Linked DNA regions of Homo sapiens: all the other regions are linked to region 3. Evidence: promoter capture Hi-C in human tissues and cell types (Jung and others, 2019). All regions are on one chromosome and are shown on one strand. Each heading gives the region's core, a stretch centred on a gene start or on the middle of the fragment in contact. The rest is flanking DNA. Distances are from core to core; before and after follow the strand shown.

Region 1 (2,700 bases), core at 35-2,534, 130 kb before region 3:
ACAAGTGAAAGCTACTAATATTGCCATTATCATTTAAAAAAACCCCAGACACAGGTTTTTCAGGGAGTTTCATCCAACCAGGCAGGTCTCAGAAATCAGAAAAGAAATGGAAAGGGTAGGAAATCTGGAGTTTGACAATTCTGAGTTTGAATTTCTTGTGATGGGATCTTGGGCAAGTCATTTAACCTCCCTGAGTATCATTTTTTTCTTTTATAAAATGAAGATTTTTCTCTCTTAACCTTCCAGAGCTGTTTTAAGGATTACAAATCTTCTACTGAAAGGCGTAGCACAGGAGCTGTGCTTGGCAAGTGCCAAATACAAGGCATTAATTATTATTATTAGAATTAATAATAATATCCCCTCCCTCTTACACATTCTTTGTCTCCGGGTGGATTAAAAGGTGGAAGGAGAGGCTACCAACACCATCAGAAGAGAGGCTTCTCTCTAAGTTTCATTTCCCATCTCCTCCAAATCCGCATCCCTCCCAAACGCCGGACCTGTAAGGCCAGCAGGGTCCAAGACACACATCCTTTGCCCAGCGGGGAAGATTAAAGCTAAAGCTCAGAGAGGGAAAACATTTCCTAAGCTCGCACAGCGAATCAGGACAGAAACCAGGACGAGCCTCGGAATCCCTCCATTACCTCCACTTTCACCTGAGCATCACAGCCCGCTCGGGACTCAGTTTCCCCACCTACGTGACCACACCACACTAATCAGGGTCTCCTTTTGGAGATCTGCTCTTCTTCTCGAATGGGGGCGCTGCACCATCGGTAGAACAGGGTAGGTGGGGGCGCCAGAGGTGAAGGGGACCTGCAGGCTGGGGTCTTCCCCGCCCGGGTCAGCGGGGTCCCTGCGGGGCTAGTCTAAGCGCCTATTATTACCAGCCCCCGGGGCGGCGTTGCACTGCGCAGGCGCGGGCGGGGCGCGGGCGCGCGCGCGAGCGAGCGAGGGATTCCCTCTGACGTCATTGCTAGGATACCAAACAAACACTCCGCCGCGCCGGCCGAGCTCCTTATATGGCTAATTGCGTCACAGGAACTCCGGGAAGGCGGGGCCGGGATCCCCTCCCGCCGAGTGGCCCGGAACGCAACCCCCGAGACCCCCAGGGCCCCGAGGGTCATGCAAGTGACCAGATCGAGTCTAGAACAGACCTCTTGCTGGACAGTGCGGGACTCGATTTGGCGGGGCCGGAGATTTGGGGAAGTTTGTCCAGCAAGGGGCGGGTGACGTAAGCAGGGGGGCGGGTCCCGGGCATATAAATACAGGCTGGCGGGTCTGTGCTTCATTCATAAGACTCAGAGCTACGGCCACGGCAGGGACACGCGGAACCAAGACTTGGAAACTTGATTGTTGTGGTTCTTCTTGGGGGTTATGAAATTTCATTAATCTTTTTTTTTCCGGGGAGAAAGTTTTTGGAAAGATTCTTCCAGATATTTCTTCATTTTCTTTTGGAGGACCGACTTACTTTTTTTGGTCTTCTTTATTACTCCCCTCCCCCCGTGGGACCCGCCGGACGCGTGGAGGAGACCGTAGCTGAAGCTGATTCTGTACAGCGGGACAGCGCTTTCTGCCCCTGGGGGAGCAACCCCTCCCTCGCCCCTGGGTCCTACGGAGCCTGCACTTTCAAGAGGTACAGCGGCATCCTGTGGGGGCCTGGGCACCGCAGGAAGACTGCACAGAAACTTTGCCATTGTTGGAACGGGACGTTGCTCCTTCCCCGAGCTTCCCCGGACAGCGTACTTTGAGGACTCGCTCAGCTCACCGGGGACTCCCACGGCTCACCCCGGACTTGCACCTTACTTCCCCAACCCGGCCATAGCCTTGGCTTCCCGGCGACCTCAGCGTGGTCACAGGGGCCCCCCTGTGCCCAGGGAAATGTTTCAGGCTTTCCCCGGAGACTACGACTCCGGCTCCCGGTGCAGCTCCTCACCCTCTGCCGAGTCTCAATATCTGTCTTCGGTGGACTCCTTCGGCAGTCCACCCACCGCCGCCGCCTCCCAGGTAAGTTTTTGATAGTAGGGGTGCTGCTTTGTAGGTTTTATTTTTTAAGTCAAGGGTGAAAAGAATAAACCCCAACCCCCACAAAAAGGCGCATCAGAACCCTAGATCTGAGATGGAAAAGGCTCACAGCGCACTTTGCAAACTGCAAAGAGTCGGGAGATGTTTGCAATTGGTTGCGTGCGTGGAGCGCAAGGAGGGAACGCGGCAGGGAGGGTAGGCTTTGGGGCGAGGTGGGGGTGGGGTGGGTAATGCGCTGCTCAATGCAACGTGTATGCGGTAGCGGGGCTGAGAACTTTGAGCCGGCCCCGGGACTGCCCCCTGCTCGGGTCCCAGACCTGAAGCTAGCGCAGTTAGGCAGGTGGGGGAAATCCCGGGGAAGCTTCCAGCAGTCTCTTTTCCTTTCCTCCTCCTTCGGAGCGCCCACTTCGGTGCCGGGTCGCCCTCCACCCATCGGGAAGAGGGGCCTCGAACCCTCAGCCGCGCTGCCTCCGCCTCCTGCGCGGAGACGTAACGGGGGACCCGTGCGTAACGGCTGACGCGCTGGAATCCTCCGTCTGACGCGGGGCACGCACGGCGCGCGGCGCCCCCTTCGTCCGCCCCGCCCCTGACGTCCCGGGAGCGTTCTATTTTGGAACGCCGGGGCCACGTTGCTAAGGGAGGGGGCAGCCCGGCGTTTCGATTGGCCGCCGGGGCGCACGC
Region 2 (2,700 bases), core at 197-2,696, 210 kb after region 3:
TAAGAGGGTCTCAGGAGGGCTGGGCACGGTGGTTCATGCCTGCAATCCTAGCACTTTGGGAGGCTGAGATGGGCGGATCACTTGAGGTCGAGTTTGAGACTAGCCTGGGCAACATGGTGAAATCTTGCCTCTACTAAAAATACAAAAATTAGCTGGGTGAAGTGGAGCGCGCCTGTAACCCCAACTACTCGGGAGGCTGAAGCAGAAGAATCACTTGAACTTGGGAAGGAGAGGTTGCCCTAAGCCAAGACCACGCCACTGTGCTCCAGCCTGGGTGACAGGGTGAGACTATGTCTGGGGGAAAAAAAAAGCAAGAGGGCTTGGGGAGCCAAATCACGTGTTCTGGAATCCTGACTCTGCCATATCCTAGCTGTGTAGTTTTGGGTAAGCGACCCAACTTCTCTGTGTCTCGGTCTCCTCCTCTGTAAAGTAGGATGAGCTGATGTGCTCATCTCCGGTGAGAATTAGGTGAGTGTGTGCAGTGCCAGCACATGTCTGGGAAGTGAATGCTAGCTGTTGTTGGCATTGATTCCGACTCAGCTGAATTAGAGTCACTGGTTTTCCATGAGGGATGATCCCTTGTCTGACTGACTGAGGCAGGCACTTCGGGTGGGGCCCCTCCCTGCCTGGGTCCCCCACCCGCCCCACTCCTAGCCCCTGCTCACAGGCTGAGGTCGCAATTGATGCTGGTCTGCAGCAGGTAGGCCTTGGCGTTCTGCACGGCCAGCTCCAGAGGCTCGGGCTCAGGCACCTGGGCACTGTAGTGTGGGAAGCCCAGCTCAGAGGGCAAGAACTGAAGGGCAGGGTCATCCCTTATGTAAGGCCCGTGCTGGGCACCTTCAGAGAACTGGTCTGTCTGGTAGAGGTTGAACTGGCCCAAGGGGTTGACTGGGGGCTCCTGGAAGGTGGGGTCCAGTTGCTGGAACAGGCTGCTTTGGCCCTGCTGGAGCCGCTGCAGCATTAGGCTGGTGGTGAGCTCGGCGACCTGCATCCTGCTTTCATCAGAGTAAGGCTGAGGCTGGAACTCTGAGGGAAAGCCCGTGTTCACAGATGGGTACTCCATGCCACCCAGCCGGGCTTCCTCAGCCTGGAAGACCTGGGGCATCAGCAAGTTCTCCTGTTGGGACAGGCTGCCCCTCTGTGACCAACCAGGGGCGTTTCGCTGGGCGTCTGGAGGTATCTGCTGCCTCTCCTCGGGGTCCGCTGCCAGGGCCTGAGCTTGGTCCCGACTGTGCCGCCTCTGGGAGGCCTGAGAAGTCCTCCGGCCCGGAGGCTGCTGGGCAGGGCGCTCAGGGTAGGGCGGCAGGTCTCCCATGGTTCGCCAGGAGGCACAGATCTCTAGGAGAAAGGCTTGCAGACAAGGAGGCCAAGCGAGAGCCACCTGTCGACACCGCCGGTTTCTGAGCACCGAGAGAGGGGGCCGTTACCCGTGGAGGGCGCGGGGAGCGGGCCAGGGTGGGTTCCGCGCAGGCTCTGGGCGCGCACTCCCGATCCCGCGCAGCCCCACGGTGGACGTCGCGCCAGACTCGAGACGGCACCCGCGCCCCAGGCCCGCCATCCCTTTTTTTTTTTCTTTTCAGTAACTTGCCCAAGTTCACATCTTTTATTTCTTTTTAAGGCAAAGCACCCGCAGGTCAAGCCCCGCCCCGTCCCCCAGCCCCGAGTCCCTGTCCCACCCCCTTTCCCCCTCGAGCCCCGTCAGCTGTTCCCCTTGGCCTCGGGTTCCCTGGCGTCCTCGGCAGCCGGGCTGGGAGTCTTCATAGCATCTTCTCCAACAGGTGCGAGGGTCTGGGGGCTCCGCTCCTCCTTCAAGGTCAGCCCGCCCGCTGCCGTCTCCTGGTGACCGGGGAAGGAAAGGGCAGCCGGGTGGAGGGCGCGGTCACCTCCACGCTCCCCTTCAGGCCCTGCCCCCTGATGGCCCCTCCTCCCCCACCTTCACCCCGGCCCAGATCCGGCTTCTTCCTTCGCAGCGGAGGCTGCTCTCCCTACCTTGGGTAGGGGGCCCTCGAGACTAGAGTCCAACAGCGCGGCCTCGGTCAGCCCCGAGTCGTCATCCATGCTGATGAAGATGCCCGGGGTCTCGCACTCAGGCCCCTCCTCCCGGAAATCCATGGCTTCCTCAGACGGGGGCGGGCCTGGCCGGGCCGACGGAGAGGGAGAGGGGGAGGAAGAGGAGGGGGCTCCCACTCCTCCCGGCTTCAGCTTCTGTTCCTCCTCCAGCTGCCGCTTTAAGGCCTTCTCCTGGGCCAGTCGCAGGCCGATGAGGTCCTGAGGGGGCCGGGGTGCTGGGGCCGGGGCCAAGGTCAGGGGCTCCAGATCATCCTGGGGATAGGGAGGGCCACACAGAAGCTCAGAGGTGGGTGGCTCAGAGGACGGCCGGAAAGAGAAGGAACCACCCTGAGGTGGTCTTTGAGTTCTTCACCAAGAGCATGGGGAGGAAGGGGCAGTTGTCCCCCAGACCCCCAACTCCCAGCAGGAGCATCCCCTGGGAGACGGGTGGCCCAGAGGCAGGGGTGGCCTGAGTCTCTCGGGGTCAGGAGGAGGCCATGGTGAGCCTTGCTGGCTTGGGGTAGGGGGTGGGAGTCTGGGGATCCAGATGGGTGGGCTGCAGGGCCCTCACCTCCTCCAAGGGCCCCGCAGGCGCCTCCTTGGCCTCTGGCTCCTGCTTGCCGCTGGCCTCCAAGATGGTCATGATGGAGT
Region 3 (2,700 bases), core at 20-2,519:
GGATTCCCAGGGTTCCAGGAGCCCCTATGGGTCTTTCATCCTCTTCAGCTGGGATTCCCCCAGAAAAGAAAACCTCCTCATCCTCACCCCAAACCTGAAGTCAAGTTCATCTACAAAGACAGAGGTGGGGGCGGATACCCCCTTGGTGGGCTCAGGAGGAGGGGGGCTGATGGTGGGCTCTGGAGGGGGAACTGGGGGGTGTGGCCCCATCCTCTCCACTTCTGCGCCAAACAAATTCCCCAATGCATATCCAGCCTGAGTACGCACACACACACATCCCACAACCGATGCCTCACAGATATCCTAGAGCTATTCCTCAGCCTAGTTTGGGAGGAGGGGTTGTCCAGTTCCAGGGGGGAGAGTGAGGCGGAAGCAGGAAAGAGTTAATGGTGACCCAGCCAAATCCTGGAAGAGAGGAAGTAGGGGAGGAAGTCCACCCCCCAGGCAGGAATTCCTGAAATTGGCGGGCGGGCTGGGTGCGACCTGAGGGGCAGTGGGGTGGCTCCGTGAAGGGGGCGCTGGGATCATGGTGTCACTTAGAGTCCGCCTGCCCCAGGTCACAAGCCTCCTGCCCCCTACCCCACTCCCAAGCAGGTTCCCAGCCCAGAGGAAAGTTCCGGGATGCGGAGGATTTGGAAGGAGAGAAGACAGAGCTGAAGGTGCCAAAACAGTGTTATAAGAGACGGAGAGAAAGAGACAGGGCAATAGAGATGAAGAGACAGGAAGGGAGAGAGCAAAGAGATACACAGAGACAGGGAGAGATGGAGATAGAGTCAGAGACATCCGCAGAGGTCCCACAACAGACGGGGGTGAGGCAGAGGCAGGGGCAGAGGGAGGTGGGACCCAGAAACAGAGAGACAGAGACAGACAGACGGAGACAGAGAGGCAGAGATCAAGAAAAAGACAGAGACATCCAGAGACACAGAAGGAAAGACACGTCCAGAGGCAGAGGGACCACAGACACAGAGACATCAGGCGGGAGTTGGAGACAGACGCAAAGCCAGGGAGAGCAACAGAGGGGGCGGGCACCGAGACGGCGCGGGAGACTGAGGCAGCCCCCGAGGGGGCGGGGAGGAGCGGTCTCGCCACGAGCAGGGCAACCTAGTGAGACCCCGCAGCATCGCGGGCAGCCGGGGAGGACCCGGCACTTACCTGCGCGCGGCGACTGGACGGGGCGGGCGGCGGCACCTCTCTCCGCTGCGTCCAGGTCCCCGGTCTTGACAACGGCGCGGGGACCCAGCGGATGCCCCCGCGGGGCAGAACAGCGGCTACTCCTCCCGGCCCCCGGGCCAGAGCCGCCAGCCGAGGCCCCGCCCCGGCCAGGCCCGCCCCCATTAACCCCACCTTTGCCGCTGCCCCTTAACCCCTTTCAGGCTTCACCCCATTAAACGCCTCCAGCCACGGGTGAGGCTCATCTGCTACTGGAACACCCCCGAATCCTTCCAAGTCCCCAGCTGGAAGGTCCCCTCTCTCCAACCACACACCCCCAAATTTATCAGGTCCTCGGCTATGGGAAGAGGAGGCCCCCGCTACTGACCTTCCCTGGGTTAAGCCATTTCCTCCCTTAGAGACCCCAGGCTTCAGTCATTCATCCTCTGGTCATTAACCTTCTGCATCTTCCTCCCCAACAACGGAGAGAATAAAGGGTTCTGTTAGGTCCCCAACTCCAAAGTCAGGGCCACCCCTAGAAGGAGCTCTGGGGTTGCATTTCCAGCCTGACTCTTGGTCAGACCTTAGGCTAGTGACATCTCCGTGCCTCAGTTTCCTCTTTGAATCAAGGTGGTCACTCATGGTGCCTGCTTGCTTCCTTCTTTTCTTTGCTTTGCTTTGCTTTGCTTTTTTCTTTCTTTTCTTTCGAGACAGAGTCATGCTCTGTTGCCCAGACTGGAGTGCAGTGGCACAATCTTGGCTCACTGCAATCTCTGCCTTCCAGGTTCAAGCGATTCTCCTGCCTCAGCCTCCCGAGTAGCTGGGATTACAGGCACACACCACCACGCCCGGCTAATTTTTGTATTTTTAATAGAGACGGGGTTTCACCAAGTTGGCCAGGCTGGTCTCGAACTCCTAAGCTCCAGCTATCTGCCCACCTCGGCCTCCAAAAAGTGTTGGGATTACAGGCGTGAGCCACCGTGCCCCACCTTTTTTCTTTTTTTGAGACAGGTTTTCACTCTCTTGCCCAGTCTGGAGTTCAGTGGCACGATCATGGCTCCCTGCGGCCTCAACCTTCCAGGCTCAAGTGATCCTCCCACCTCAGCCTCCTGAGTTGCTGGGACTACAGGCGTGTGCCACCACACCTGGCCAATTTAAAAAATTTTTTTTTTCTATAGACAGGGGTCTCACTATGTTGTCTAGGCTGGTCTCAAACTCCTGGGCTCAAGCCATCCTTCTGCTTTGGCCTCCCAAAGTGCTGGGATTATAAGCCTGAGCCACCGAGGCCGGCCATCATGGTCCTTTTCTCCTGGCGGTCTCATTTAATGGTGTCAATGCTATCAAGTCTGTAAAATATGCCAACCAGACCCCAACACTCCCCATCTTTCTCTGCCTCACTTTTCCCCTACCCTTTGGGGAAGGCAACATTCTCTTATTTTTTTCTAGTTGTCTGCCTTCCTACTAGGAAGAGTGTCATTTTTGTGTCTGGCTTGTTTACTGTTGCATGTCTGTTGCCTAGAAGACTGCTGGGCAGGTGATAGGTGTGAAACA
Region 4 (2,700 bases), core at 1-2,500, 230 kb before region 3:
GTCTTAGGCAAGTACCTTCACCTCCCCAGACCTCAGTATCCCTATCTCTAAAATGAGCCTAAAGCCAGGCGTGGTGGCTCACACCTGTAATCCCAGCACTTTGGGAGGCTGAGGCAGGTGAACCACCTGAGGTCAGAAGTTCAAGACCAGCTGGGCCAACAAGGTGAAACCCCGTCTCTACTAAAAATACAAAAAATTAGCCAGATGTGGTGGCGCGCACCTGTAATTCAATCTCAAAAATAAATAAATAAAATAAAATGGGCCTAATAATAAAACCTTCCTCATAACATGACTATGAGGATTGTGAGAAATTGCAGGTTAAATATTTGGCACAGTAGCTGATATATAGTGAACTTTTCTCCCTTCTTTTTTAAGAGACAAGTGTCACTATTGCCCAGGCTGGAATGCAGTGGCACAATCATGGCTCACTGCAGCCTCCAACTCCTGGCCTCAAGCGATCCTCCTGCCTCAGCCTCCCGAGTAGGTGGGATTACAGGCGCCCGCCACCACACCTGGCTAATTTTTGTATTTTTAGTACAGACGGGGTTTCACCGTGTTGGCCAGGCTGGTCTCCAACTCCTGACCTCAAGTGATCCGCCCGCCTCGTCCTCCCAAAGCTCTGGGATTACAGGCGCGAGCCACCGCGCCCAGCCTATTCACCATTATTGTTTTAGATAACGGAAGATTATGGGGTCCTGGATTCCCAGGGACCTCGGACTTCTAAAATCCAGACGTCCTGCAATCTGTCTTAGGCCCAGGCGTGGCAGCCCCACCGGTCGAGTGGGCGGGTCGGGCCCACCGGCCACCCACCTTGGCGTCCAGCGTGCGTTTGAGCTCCCGCATGTAGGAGAACTGCTCGGGGTAGATGTAGTCGTACGGGAAGTAGACCAGGAGCCCGTCCACGTTGAGCCTGGCGGCAGGGGCTGCTGGGTCAGTTCCCGTCCCCTCAGCCCCTCTCCCGCCTCCACAGTGCCCGGTCGTCGAGCCCAGAGAAGGGTGACGGGCCCGGCGCCCCCGGTAACCCTCAGGTCCTCAGGAGCCTCGGGGCCCCCTCAGTGTCTCCTCGCTATCACTGCTGCTCCCTGCGGCTGCCCCCGTCCCACCCCTTCACCCTCCCCTCGCCCCCTTGGGGACCCAGGCGCGCCCACCGATGACCCCATCTTCAAGACCCCCCGCGCCCGCTAGCGAGCGCGACCCCCAGCCCCCTTCTCACTTCATGGCGCCGGCCGGACTGTGCAGCGGGGTCGACCCGCCTCCCTCATGAATATTCAGCGAGAGGCCGGGTCGTGGACATCCTCGAGGGCTCGCTCCACCTATATTACGAGACCATTGGCTAACCTGCCCGTCAATCCGCTAGGGCAGAGCCAATCGGGATACTGCGCGTGCGCACGGAAAAGCGAGGGCGGCTGACTCTCGGGTGAGGCGGTGCGGGAGGCGTCACTGAGGATCGTCGAGGGCCAATCAAAAAGAAAACATGGAAGGGAAAGAGCCGAGAGACTCGATCTCATTCACTAGAATTTGGTCCTCCTGCGCCTGCCAAGATTGTCTGAGTATTGATCGAACCCAGGAGTTCGAGATCAGCTTGAGCAAGATAGCGAGAACCCCCGCCCCTCCACCTCGTCTCAAAAAAAAAAAAAAATCGTCTCAGTAGCGAATAGTCTAACGGAGAATGACAGGGAAATTGGTGATCCTTTCTGGGCCCAAGAGTTAGAAATGGCTTTGCAGGCCGGGCGCGGTGGCTCAAGCCTGTAATCCCAGCACTTTGGGAGGCTGAGGCAGGTGGATCACCTGAGGTCGGGAGTTCAAGACCAGCCTGACCAACATGGAGAAAACCTGTCTCTACTAAAGATACAAAATTAGCCGGGCGTGCTGGCAAATGCTTGTAATCCCAGCTACTCGGGAGGCTGAAGCAGGAGAATTGCTTGAACCTGGGAGGCAGAGGTTGCAGTGAGCAGAGATGGCGCCGTCGCACTCTAGCCTGGGCAACAAAAGCGAAACTCCATTTCAAATATTAATAATAATAACTAATAAATAAAACATAAATGCTAGCTTTTGTTTGTTTCTTCAACAAATAGCTATGTGGCATCTACCATGTGTCTGATCCTGTGCTGGCCCCTGGGAACAGAAAGGTGACCATGACAGCCTCAGCACCTGCCCTCAAAGAACAGATTTTTTTCCTTGAGACAGGGTCTTTCTCTGTCGCCAAGGCTGGAGTGCAGTGGCACAGTCACAGCTCACTGCAGCCTCCACCTCTTGGGCTCAAGCGATCCTCCCACCTCAGCTTCCAGAGTAGCTGGGACCACAGGTGTGCACCACCAAGCCCAGCTAAGTTTTATTTTTTAAATTTTTTTAGAGACGAGGTCTCACCACGTTGCCCAGGCTGGTTAAACTCGCAGGTTCAAGTGATCCTCTCCCCTCAGCCTTTCAAATTGTTGGGATTACAGGGGTGAGGCACCAGGCCTGGCCTCAAAGAACAGATATTAAATATACAAATGAATATATGATTACAGCCTGGAGTGGTGGCTCGTGCCTGTGGTTCCAACACTTTGGAAGGCCAAGGCGAGTACATTGCTTGAGCTCAGGAGCTAGAGACCAGCCTGGGCAACATGGTGAAAACCCGTCTCTACAAAAAATGCAAAAATTAGCTGGGCGTGGTGGCGTGCACCTGTAGTCCCAGATACTCAGGAGGCTGAGGTGGGA

What was found. The method cuts DNA at HindIII sites, captures the fragments that hold promoters and counts their contacts. A contact is called where the count stands out against the background at its distance.
Region 1: the fragment with the promoter of FOSB here is called in contact with the fragment with the promoter of GPR4 in region 3 in 2 of the 25 tissues and cell types used here (dorsolateral prefrontal cortex and lymphoblastoid cells).
Region 2: a contact is called between the fragment with the promoter of RSPH6A here and the fragment with the promoter of GPR4 in region 3, in 1 of the 25 tissues and cell types used here (dorsolateral prefrontal cortex).
Region 4: a contact is called between the fragment with the promoter of ERCC2 here and the fragment with the promoter of GPR4 in region 3, in 2 of the 25 tissues and cell types used here (adrenal gland and spleen).

What each region holds. Positions count from the first base shown.
Region 1 is chr19:45,466,712-45,469,411 of GRCh38, forward strand. It overlaps FOSB (FosB proto-oncogene, AP-1 transcription factor subunit), which reads left to right and starts at 1,285. Exons shown (of 4, transcript NM_006732.3): 1 at 1,285-2,001. The coding sequence starts at 1,876. RefSeq lists a silencer at 922-1,201 and an enhancer at 1,386-2,287. The HindIII fragment of the contact is 8,650 bases long and covers 1-2,700 here.
Region 2 is chr19:45,813,862-45,816,561 of GRCh38, forward strand. It overlaps RSPH6A (radial spoke head 6 homolog A), which reads right to left and starts at 1,447. Exons shown (of 6, transcript NM_030785.4): 1 at 666-1,447. The coding sequence starts at 1,315. It overlaps SYMPK (symplekin scaffold protein), which reads right to left. Exons shown (of 27, transcript NM_004819.3): 25 at 2,621-2,700; 26 at 1,990-2,322; 27 at 1,549-1,836. The coding sequence ends at 1,699. The HindIII fragment of the contact is 35,300 bases long and covers 1-2,700 here.
Region 3 is chr19:45,600,943-45,603,642 of GRCh38, forward strand. It overlaps GPR4 (G protein-coupled receptor 4), which reads right to left and starts at 1,270. Exons shown (of 2, transcript NM_005282.3): 1 at 1,153-1,270. The HindIII fragment of the contact is 53,447 bases long and covers 1-2,700 here.
Region 4 is chr19:45,369,323-45,372,022 of GRCh38, forward strand. ERCC2 (ERCC excision repair 2, TFIIH core complex helicase subunit) reads right to left here and starts at 1,251. Exons shown (of 23, transcript NM_000400.4): 1 at 1,214-1,251; 2 at 811-910. The coding sequence starts at 1,218. RefSeq lists enhancers at 5-846, 1,465-1,544. The HindIII fragment of the contact is 25,658 bases long and covers 1-2,700 here.